Linked DNA regions of Homo sapiens: all the other regions are linked to region 1. Evidence: promoter capture Hi-C in 16 types of primary human blood cells and fetal thymus (Javierre and others, 2016). All regions are on one chromosome and are shown on one strand. The core of a region is centred on a gene start or on the middle of the fragment in contact, and the rest is flanking DNA. Distances in the headings are between cores, read along the strand shown. Region 1 holds the start of CEP162 (centrosomal protein 162). Region 2 overlaps DOP1A (DOP1 leucine zipper like protein A). Region 3 has its middle 83 kb from the start of LINC02535. Region 4 overlaps ME1 (malic enzyme 1).

Region 1 (2,627 bases), core at 68-2,567:
TATAAACTTACCTCTTTCATAAACTGTTCAAACTCTTCATCTAGCTCTTCTTGGGAACAGTTAGCCATAGTCAACAATTTTGACCTCCCAAAGTAAACATTCTAAAGTACCTCAAACATTGGAAACACTAAATGACAAGAGACATAAACATCTTTTGAGGAAATCCATCAGATCATGAACACGACCAGACTTAAACTTCGGACATTTGTTATGATTCAGTATATATGCACAATTTTTTTTAACCAGTAAGAGCTGGTCAAGAGATTCCTAATTCATTAAGCAAACTGATTTGGAAAAGCAGCTTTGACAGGATGTCTTGTACTCAACGTTCAGAATTATGTTTTCATCTGTTAACATCCAATTGTTAAAGAGTGGTCTCTACAATATTTCCCAAACCTATGTTTGTGTGCATGTGTTAATTAGTACCTCTCAAACACAAACCAGGTCCTCACAGGGAATCTTAAAAACTGTAAGTTAGCAAATCCAAAGGACTGTTTCTTTCTTGCAAAGCACACGACAGTTTGTGCTGCCTTATCACTCGGCTCGTTATTTTACCAATCCATAGTAATAGTTTCGTAAAGCAGACTGCATAGTTTCGTAAAGCAGACTGTATCCAGATACGGGGATGTTTCAAAATATACACAAATAGAATTTAGTAAGAATTAGTAATTTAGTCAAAATACTTAAAGAATACTTAAAGTTAATGGAGTACACAAATCAGTACTATGTTTCTTTTGAAGCGAGGGAAGACCGACAAAAATTATGTGCTGAACACAAGCAGAATCCAGTGATTTGCAACGGAAAGCGTTCCCCTAGACACCTAATGAACCCAACCTTGGGTCGACCCCCAGCTCCTGAACTCCCTAGAGCAGCTCAAATCCCAGCTTTCTTCTGTAGAGATGGGGGAGGGGAAGAGGGCTTGCAGACCCGGACAATACCCTCCCCATCGTGCAGAGTAACACCTCTTCCCCTCATTTGCACTTTCGATCAGTTCAGGGTAAGTGCGGTTAAGGTCTTGGCCTGAATAGCTTGGTCAGGGGTGAGCTCCACTAAAAGCTTCTCAAGCCTGGCTGCGACCCCGTCCCCAGAAGCGCGGGTTCGGGAATTGGAGGGAAGACAAAGACGCATTTGCCGTGGGCTCCGGGCGGAGAAGGGGAATGACCTGGAAAATTAAAGCCCTTCGCTCGAGTATGAAGCACGGCCTCGACCAGGGCGATTTGGGTGGGAAACCAGCGTTCACACCTTACCACCTACCTCTGCCTCTGAATTCCGCGCTTTCCCGGAAGGTCTGTGCGGGTCCACCAGTTGTCAGGGTAACAGACTTCAGCTGCCGGGTTCTGGAGTCACATGACCCGGGCTGGTCACGTGGGCCGTGGGTTTCCCAATGCCTTTACAAGCGAAGGTCGGAATAACCACGGCTGAGAAAGACACTCTAGTGGCTAAACCTTCGCTGCTGCAGTAAAATGCCTTTCCTTCCCTGGCTTTCTCTACGTTCCTTAGAAAAGGGGACAGCGGCAAACCGGTTACTGGAGAAGCGAGACGGAGGCTTCCAGCAGGCTTGGAGGGCGCGGTGGTTGTAGGCCAGCCCGTGGCTTTCTGGGAAATGTAGTTTAGCTCCCCTGGTCCTTGTGTTTCCGCACTCCGCATCGTCGCCTCCCGCCTTCCCCACACTTGTCATTCGAGCGCTCTGTTTTTCCAAGGGGCAATTTTGAAGAGATTGAATTTCTTGGATTTCTTTGGCCTGCAAAGACCTGTGTAGGCATTGTGAGAGAAACACAAACCTGTGAGGAAAAAAACTGTCGTTTAGATGGGGACTCTGTTCCACCACCTAGTGGGCAAGAAATCGAAAATACGCAAACAGCAAGATTCTTATTAAGTTATTGCTCCTCCCGCTACCCCTACTTTTCAAAACTGCATTCTTTACTGGCATTTCACAATTACTGACTTGGATTTTGTTTTCTATTTCTTTTCTTTTTTTCAAAGCATGCAACATTAGCTGGAGTTTCAGAGGACAACATTTAGCATAGTGTAAGTAAAATCTACAACAGCTGCAGGTTTTGCTGATGGTAGACTTAGTTCAGGACCTCATCTTTAGCTAGAACTGTTTATTCATCAAGTCTTTCTTGCAATACAAATATGTACAAACCAGGAGCTGTGGACTATGATGCAAATATGAATAATAAAAGAAATATCTTAAGCTACCATTTATTGAGAAGTTGACTTCCTGCCACCTTCTATCAAAGACTTACCTTCCCACATATGATCTAGAGCCTTTACCCATTCTTCTTCTCACTGATCTTGTTCCACTGGTCATTTCCCTTAATCCTGTATCTTCGACTTCTGGCTGGCTGTGGGATTTTTCCTAACAGCATTTGAACATGCCTTGAGATCCCCACCTAAAACATCACTTCTGACACATTCTCTTCATGCTATTATTTCCCAGTGGTTGAAATGATCTGTCTCCTCACCTTACTTGCCAATCTTTTCTGAGGAATTATTTCCACTTTACCTCCCTTTTGTCAGACCTTTTAATCCTGTCTCTGTGTGTGTAAGTGTACATATATGACAGCGCTTTATTTGATCTCCCAATACTATTTGATACACTTGTCTCCTCTCTTTCTTGGTTT
Region 2 (2,627 bases), core at 57-2,556, 1.1 Mb before region 1:
CAGTGGGGCAAGGACATTCTCTTCAGTAAATCGTGTTGGGAAAACTGGATAAACTGCAGAACAAAATTAGACCCTTATCTCTCACCATATACAAAAATCATCTTGGGTTATAAAAAAAAATAGGACCTGAAACTATGAAACTACTAGGAGAAACAAGAAAAGCTATGTGACATTGATCTGCACCATGATTTTGTATCTATGATCTTAAAAGCACAGGCAACAAAAGCAAAAATAGACAAATGGGGTTATATGAAATTAAAAAGCTTCTGCACAGCAAAGGAAACAATTAGCAGAGTAAAGAGACAACCTACTTACAGGATGGGAGAAAATATCTGCACACCATACATCTGATAAGGGGTTAATATCTAAAATATATAAGGAACTCAATAGCAAGTAAACAACTTGATTTTAAAATATGCAAAAGACCTGAGTAGACATTTCCTAAAGGAAGACATAAATGGCCAACAGGTATATGAAAAAAGGCTCAACGTCACTAATCATCAGGTAACTGCAAATCAAAACTAAAATGAGATATCATCTCACTCCTGTTAGAATTGCTGTTATCAAAAAGACAAAAGGTAAGTGTTAGAGAGGATGTGGAGAAAAGGGAACACACTGTTGGTGGGAATGTAAATTAGTATAGCCATTATGGAAAACAGTAAGGAGGGGCCTCAAAAAATGAAAAAAATAGAACTACCATATGATTCTGTAATCCCACTACTGAGTATATATCCAAAGAAAATGAAATCAGTATGTCAAAGAGAGAAGTGCACATAAACAGCAGTATTCACATAGCCAAGATATGGAATCAGCCTAGGGGTCTATCAGCAGATGAAGGGGCAAAGAAAATATGGTTTATATACATGATGGAATGCTATTCACCTATCAAAAAGCAAAATTCTGTTCTTTGCAATAACATGGATGAACCTAGAGGACACTGTGTTAAGTGAAATAAGCAAAGCACAGAAAGATAAATGCTGCATGATCTCACCCAATATGTAAAACCTAAAAAGTATATCCCATAGAAGTAGAGAATAGAATGGTGCTTACCAGCGGCTGGGGTGGTTTGAGGAAATGACAGGATGGAAGAATGTTAGTCAAAGGATATATAGTTAGGAGGAGTAAGTTCAAGGAATCTGTTGTACAGCATAGTGGCTATGGTTAATGATGATATGTTCTTGAAAAATACAAAGAGTAGTAAGTGTTCTTACCACAAAAATGACAACTATTTGAGGCAATGCATTTGTTAATTAGCTACATTTAACCATTACACAGTGTGTATATACTTCAAAACATTATATTGTACATAATACAATTTTATCTGTCAATTTGAAATAAGCTACATGTCTCTTTTTTAAACCCACTTTTTTTTTTTTTTTGAGACCGAGTTTTGCTCTGTCACCCAGGCTGGAGTGCAGTGGTGCGGTCTCCACTCACTGCACCCTCTGCCTCCTGGGTTCAAGCAATTCTTCTGCCTCAGCCTCCCAAGTAGCTGGGATTACAGGTGCCTGCCACCACGCCCAGCTAATTTTTGTATTTTTATTAGAGATGGGATTTCACCATGTTGGCCAGGCTGGTCTCAAACTCCTGACCTCAGGTGATCCACCCGCCTCAGCCTCCTGAAGTGCTGGGATTACAGGCATGAGCCACCATGCCTGGCCAAAAACCCACTCTTTTATAGATAACAACCAAAAATAAAAACTTCTGTATCAGAATCATGATCATTTTTGCCTTATATTTTAAACACTATCAGTATTGAGTGGTGAACCACTTGGGGTATTTTGAGTTGAGCTTTGGTCCCTGTGCTTCATTCAAGGTCTAGGAAGAATAACATATGTATTTACATTATTATAGTTTTTTTTTAAGTACAATTTCTAAGAAAGAAATCTATATAGCCGGAAAAGTTTTTTGAAAAAAGTTAATGAGAGAGGAGAGGTAGAATATGTCATGCAGGAGAATTAAGACTTGTGGTTTAAAAAAAAAAAAAAAAGTTCAGAAAGATACTGATTAAGGGCCAATTCCAGGAGTCAGTCTGCCAGAGTTCTTCCTGGTTCTTCCTTTTATTCTCTGTGGCACCTTGAACACTAATTGCCTTATATGAACATGGATTCATGTGTATATCTACCTCATGGATGTATTGTGAAGATACATGAGATAATTCACATGAAAGGGCTTAGTATAGTGCCTGGCACAGAGTAATTTGTAAGTCAGTATCAACTGTGATTATTATCATCATCTTGAGTAATACGTGGACAATGTTTATTTGGCTACTATGCTTTGGAGACAGGATGATCCTTTGTAACTCAAGGGTATGTGCTTAAGTGTTTATTATTATGGCTGTTTGCCATTTGAAGCTTAAAGTAGAATCCCACCTACCTGCTAATGGCTCATTCCAAGTTATAAATGGTGCTTATGTTTTGTATTTTCTAAAATTAATATTTTCATATTGCTATGTGTACCAGAAATCACAGAATTTGAAATGAGAAAGAATCTGATTTTATAGCATTCAGAGACAATTTTTAATAACGTATATAATTTTGTGTATATTTACTTGGTAAAAAAAGAAATCGTAAAGTTAAATCAGCTTCACTGTCACCTTGGCAGATCTATGGGCTTTTAAACCTCTT
Region 3 (2,627 bases), core at 71-2,570, 1.1 Mb after region 1:
AATCTCATATCTTGTACATATTCTCCCAAACTGTGTTCCCCGTCTTTCTTCTAATGTAATGTTAGCTGAGTTTCTCCACCATTCAAAAGCCTTTTCCTAGAACATCGTGATGAGAGAAATCACAAAGCGGTAGCTCCCAGCCCTGCTAAAAGGAGGAAACGTGCTTGGCATCCAAATGGAAACTGGTTTCTAGTACTTAGGTCAAAAGTTCATGTACACACACACACACACACACACACACACACACAGAGCGTTCTCAAGAGAAGTTCTTAAGGCCAAAAGAAAAAACAGAGAGACTACCAACACATAGATCCTAGAGTGAAAAAATCCAACTGGCAATCTGAACTAATGTAGGCAGTTTCCCCAAAGCGACTGATAACTATTGAGTTACTTTCCCCAGGGTCAGCTGCAGAGAAGGAATTAGAAAGACCAAGTTGGGGCCCTTCTCTACTCCTTTTAAATACCGCGTTTCTGTTGCTTGGAACTTTCATATTTCTGCATCAGACTGTTCTCCTTGCTATATTTCACACTCCCTCTGGCTTCACATCAGAAGAACAAGGTCAGTATTTGTTTGTAATGGAATAGGGGTGTGATGGTGAATAATACAGATGTATATTTTACTTGGAACAAATGCAGTTCACCTTTCTTCTCTGAGTAAACTGAGATCTTGAGAGAGGCTGCACTGCATAAGCCTTCAAAAGGAGGCCCTCCTTGGGTATTCCAAACATTTTATCAAGCCACAAGATCCTCTTGTTTCAAGCAAGAAGCACCTACAAAGAAAAAGACAGTTTCTGTAAGACACTTGGATTTTGGGTTTGTTAGTTCTTTTGGGGTGAATTTTTAATGTTAACAGAAAAACCAAACTACCTTGGTGGAATTGGGTGCCAGGAGGCATTAAATAAATGGATTCAAGTAAGTACATTTGCAATACCCTAGAATGGTACATTCTCTCAGGTCCTTTGCTTTGGGTTTTTCAGAGAGATTCAGAATACGTTTCTACGTTTATTTAAAGTAGAATGTTAAGGCCAAGATGAAGAGAATCAATTCTAATCAGCTTTTGAAGTAGAAACAGGACAGGATCAATCTTGCAGCACTCAACAGACTATCTCCCATTTGGAACTAAAGATGCAGAACATAAAACATTCCATTAGATCCCTATTTTATTTCATTTGTGGCCACATGAGTCTGTCTAATCCTGACCACAGAATCAGAATGTTGAAAAGACTTTGAAGGTTCATCGAATCCACACCCACGCCTATGGGAAGATCTCCCACTAACCCTCCAGACACATGGGGACTTACCCTGTTTCTAAAGACCTCCACGAAGTCCTACAAAAAGTGTTAAAACACCAGCTCTCCTGCCAGTGGTCTGCTGGGATTGTTGAATTTGCGTCGGCCCCACCTCCATTAATCAATCCCACTCCAGCTCCTCAGAATCATCCCCTTTTCTCTACTCTTTAATACTCAACATCTGCCCACAGCTCACATGTGTTGCATTGCCAAGTTCTGGCCCCTAAGCCAGCTGAGGCCTGTTCTAGTCTATTGAAGCCAAGGCACAGGTGTGGCTGTCAGGCAGCCCAAGCCCCTCCTGTTGTTCCCCATGCAACCATTGGCAGTGCTTCAGCTGCTGAGCAGCTAGTGAGAGGAAAGGCAAATTCCTAAACACTCAGGAGTTTTGGAGTGTTTCATTCTTTGCAAGGAAAAAAGATTCATAGATCTTTTATTAGGGAGGCTGCAAGTGATGCTTGATATAAAATATTTGCCTTTTGTTTAACATAGTAAATTGATCATTATTTGGCTACCCCAACTCAAACTTCTGATCAAGCCTCAAAATTTGCAGCACCAACCTCTACCAGAATTCCTACTCTGTTGGCTTAAAATAGCAGAGGAGTAAACTTTTTTCCTTCATTAATATGAAAGAATTTGAAGCATTAGAAATAGCCCTGCACTAAAGAAACAGGTACTAAGAATGATGTTTCCCAGGAAATGCGTGTGGCCAGAAACCTAAGTCAGGAATGAAGAATCCTCAATGAGCATTGGAGAGGACTGTCTACTTTCCTTGACTCTCATATCATTCCTGGCTCCAGACTGGCTCCTGGAAAACGCTTTTTCTCCATTTCCCAGACAATGTCTTGTGCACTCCCCCATTGCCTGAGAGAGACTTAGGGAGGGTTATCTGTAGTACCAATCAAGGCAGCTTGGATGCTCCCCTCCAGCCTTCAGCAGACAGACCCTCCTGGAGATGTGGGAAGGGCCATCACCCCACTGTAAGGAGCTGAGGCCCTGTTGATCAGCTTTTTCAGTTTCAGCAACAGAAGCAGACAGGCCTTGAGCTGTATGGAGTGGAGCCTGCAGTTACTGGTGTGACCATCCACTGCAGTCAGAGGCAAAACCCTGAGAGAAGCCCAAAATCCAGCTGAAGAATGGGAATGCACAGGGTCATACTCCTCAGGTGGTGCCAATTTTCAAAACCCCAGACCCCTCAAATCAAGGACTGTATCCCAGAGAACTGGATAAACCAGCTATGTCCCTACAGATAAAGACACATGCTACCCTTTAACTTCCTGCTGGCTAAATGCTTTCTCTGAAGGCCTCGCCTGAGCTAAAATCAGATTTTCACATTTAGTA
Region 4 (2,627 bases), core at 45-2,544, 1.0 Mb before region 1:
GAGACAGAGTCTTACTCCATCCCCCAGGCTGGAGTGCAGTGGCATGATCTTGGTTCACTGCAACGTCCAGTGCAAGCGATTCTCGTGCCTCAGCCTCCCAAGTAGCTGGGATTACAGGCATGAGCCACCAAGCCCAGCTAATTTTTATAGTTTTTAGTAGAGATAGGGTTTCACCAGGTTGGCCAGGCTAGTCTTGAACTCCTGACCTCAGGTGATCTGCCTGTCTCAGCCTCCCAAAGTGCCAGGATTACAGGCGTGAGCCACTGTGCCCAGCCACATATGTTTTAAATGAATGATGTTTATACTGAAATTAGCAGTTATTAGAATATTTTAGAAATTCGTCACACATAATCATATGACCCCAAGACCAAGCATTACAATGTAACATTTTAAGAAAAAGGACAATTATTTTATATTTTTATTCATTCACCTTTTCTATGCTTTAATAAATCTTTTGCATAGGTAAACACATTTAGTCAGAGCTATAAGACAACATAGAAACAGACAAGAAATACACAGACATTCTGATTCTTCTCCAAATAACTATTTTGAGGAAACTCTTGACTATATGTTACCTTTAGAAATACCTTAACCTCTTCTGCTCATACCTAAAACAATTTGTGTAACCTTCAACTTTCAATAAAATCATTTTATAGTATAATTTATCTTGAATATCTTATACTCCTTAAAGCATTACTTCAAAAACAAAATTCTTCAAATAATTCTATAAATAAGTAGCAAATGTTATTGCACCTTAGCTTTATAATTTAAAATTTTTTCCATTACTTCAAACATTAGTTTCTAAAGTAAATTAATACAGTCTGGGCATATAACTACTCTTTCTCATAGAATGGTATTAGTCATCAAGATATTTTAATCTTATGTAAGGACATTTCTGATACTGGGAACTTAATTATAATACTTTCTCCAAATTCAGGCAAAAGCAAGATGATTATAACACAGTTAGCTCTTCATTACCTGAGTTAATTAAGAGGCCATTCTGGCAGGTAACTCCAGTAGGAACCTAACTTGTTGTCTTAAAGATCCTGAGATCTTTAAGAGGTCAGTTCCTCAGGCAGCCCTTTCTCAAGGATCTTAACTATATACTCTCCTTTCAGACCTTCTCACTGCTCAGGCTGTGCTGAACTGAAGGTGCCAACCTCGGGACAGGGGCCACAGTCCACAAAATCCCTGTAGCAACAGTATGGTAGCTGAAGGATGGGATGTTTGATCAAGGGGGAAAAAAGGTGATTTCAGGTGGGATTTCTGACTCAGGATCAAGGTAATAAGAGCTTTACTCTATGAGATGTAACAATGACAAAAGAATATTAAAATCTAAGGCTGCACAAGGCGCTGTAAACAGCAGTGATCTTTCTCTTAGAACTGTTAGAATTCCGTTGCACAAAAGAACATATATGATCTAGGACTGGAATAAAAATACTTGAGAAGTTATCTTTCTCTAGGCAACAAAGTAGTGTTATTTCTGCTTAGCAAAAGTTCACCTACGCCTAGATTCATTTCTAGCTTTTTTTTTTTGAAAAGTAGATTTTAACAAAATGGTCAACAAAATAATTATGAGTTTTAATGTTGGTTATGTCAATTTATTAGTAATTTTGGTCTTCCCATTAGTGTCCTGTATAAAAATGATGAGTTTCTCCGTAGTACGTACAACAGCTTTTAAAGAGAACGTAGGCAGAATAATTCAGACAGAAACCATAAATAACCAGAAGGCAAAGTGAAGCAAAATTGTCTCATGTGATGTTTATCCCAATTTATATCGATATTCTTCTATCAATTTTTAGACTGTTAAAGTAAAATCTTAATCTAAGTGTCTTATGAATCATTATAAAAGATTCCAACCTTTAAAAATTATGAAAGGTTTAAAGACCTCATTAATAGAGTTAGAAATGTTTGCTATTATCCTACTGGTCAACTTTGGTCTGTATTTTCTGCACCTCTTCAGGCCAAGAATAACAATCAGGTAGAATCTGGTCATAATCAGTACTATACATCTGGGAGCGGACAAATGCTTCTTTGTTTTGCGGTTCAGGATAAACTGTGGCTGTCTTTTCTTGGTATGCATCTTTCACAATCTAGATATAAGAAAAGAATATTAATTATTTTAATAAATAGAGGTAATCATGAGCCCATGTGAGTGGAAGTTTTTATCCATTTCAAAAACACTGTATCCTATGTTTGCAAAAACATTAAGTGTATTATAATAAAAGCACATATAAGCAATGAAGATATAAAATGAAAATGCAATTATAAATCATATAGTGAGAGAGAAAAATGACATCAGCAACTAAGGAAAGTGTGACCAGGTGAGACTGATTCAAGTACTATCACATCTGGATTTCTCAGAGAAGCCAGTGTTCAAAGTCTTGACATGACCTGACTGACAATTAACTTGAAATAAATACCTAAATAGTCCTGCTAAACTTGAACCTTGAATTTTCAAGAATCCCTATTCTCACCACAGCCTCCTACAAAATCTCTTCCTGTACCCCAGGGTCTCCTGATCTTGCTCAGCTAATCATCTAGACACCACAGTCAGGATGAGCACTCTTTGCCAGCGTCACAGATTCTCTGGTCATCACGCCCTGTGTTTCATGCATAATTCTAGT

The links. Contacts are between HindIII fragments. The CHiCAGO score rates a contact against its expected background, and 5 or more counts as called.
Region 2: a contact is called between a fragment that was not itself captured here and the fragment with the promoter of CEP162 in region 1, in 1 of 17 cell types (total CD4 T cells). The highest score is 6.6, in total CD4 T cells.
Region 3: a fragment that was not itself captured here is called in contact with the fragment with the promoter of CEP162 in region 1 in 4 of 17 cell types (naive CD8 T cells, endothelial precursors, erythroblasts and 1 more); the score reaches 8.4 in naive CD8 T cells.
Region 4: a fragment that was not itself captured here is called in contact with the fragment with the promoter of CEP162 in region 1 in 6 of 17 cell types (total B cells, naive CD8 T cells, total CD8 T cells and 3 more); the score reaches 8.9 in total B cells.

Annotation. Positions count from the first base shown.
Region 1 is chr6:84,226,326-84,228,952 of GRCh38, forward strand. CEP162 (centrosomal protein 162) reads right to left here and starts at 1,318. Exons shown (of 27, transcript NM_014895.4): 1 at 1,255-1,318; 2 at 12-127. The coding sequence starts at 68. RefSeq lists enhancers at 731-1,231, 1,232-1,732, 1,634-1,793. The HindIII fragment of the contact is 5,497 bases long and covers 1,055-2,627 here.
Region 2 is chr6:83,081,447-83,084,073 of GRCh38, forward strand. All of the region lies in intron 1 of DOP1A (DOP1 leucine zipper like protein A), which reads left to right. Among named protein-coding and RNA genes, the nearest start is that of DOP1A, 15 kb to the left of the region's middle. The HindIII fragment of the contact is 2,091 bases long and covers 262-2,352 here.
Region 3 is chr6:85,320,563-85,323,189 of GRCh38, forward strand. No RefSeq gene overlaps it. Among named protein-coding and RNA genes, the nearest start is that of LINC02535, 83 kb to the right of the region's middle. The HindIII fragment of the contact is 3,121 bases long and covers 1-2,627 here.
Region 4 is chr6:83,210,002-83,212,628 of GRCh38, forward strand. It overlaps ME1 (malic enzyme 1), which reads right to left. Exons shown (of 14, transcript NM_002395.6): 14 at 401-2,093. The coding sequence ends at 1,923. Among named protein-coding and RNA genes, the nearest start is that of RWDD2A, 18 kb to the left of the region's middle. The HindIII fragment of the contact is 3,037 bases long and covers 1-2,627 here.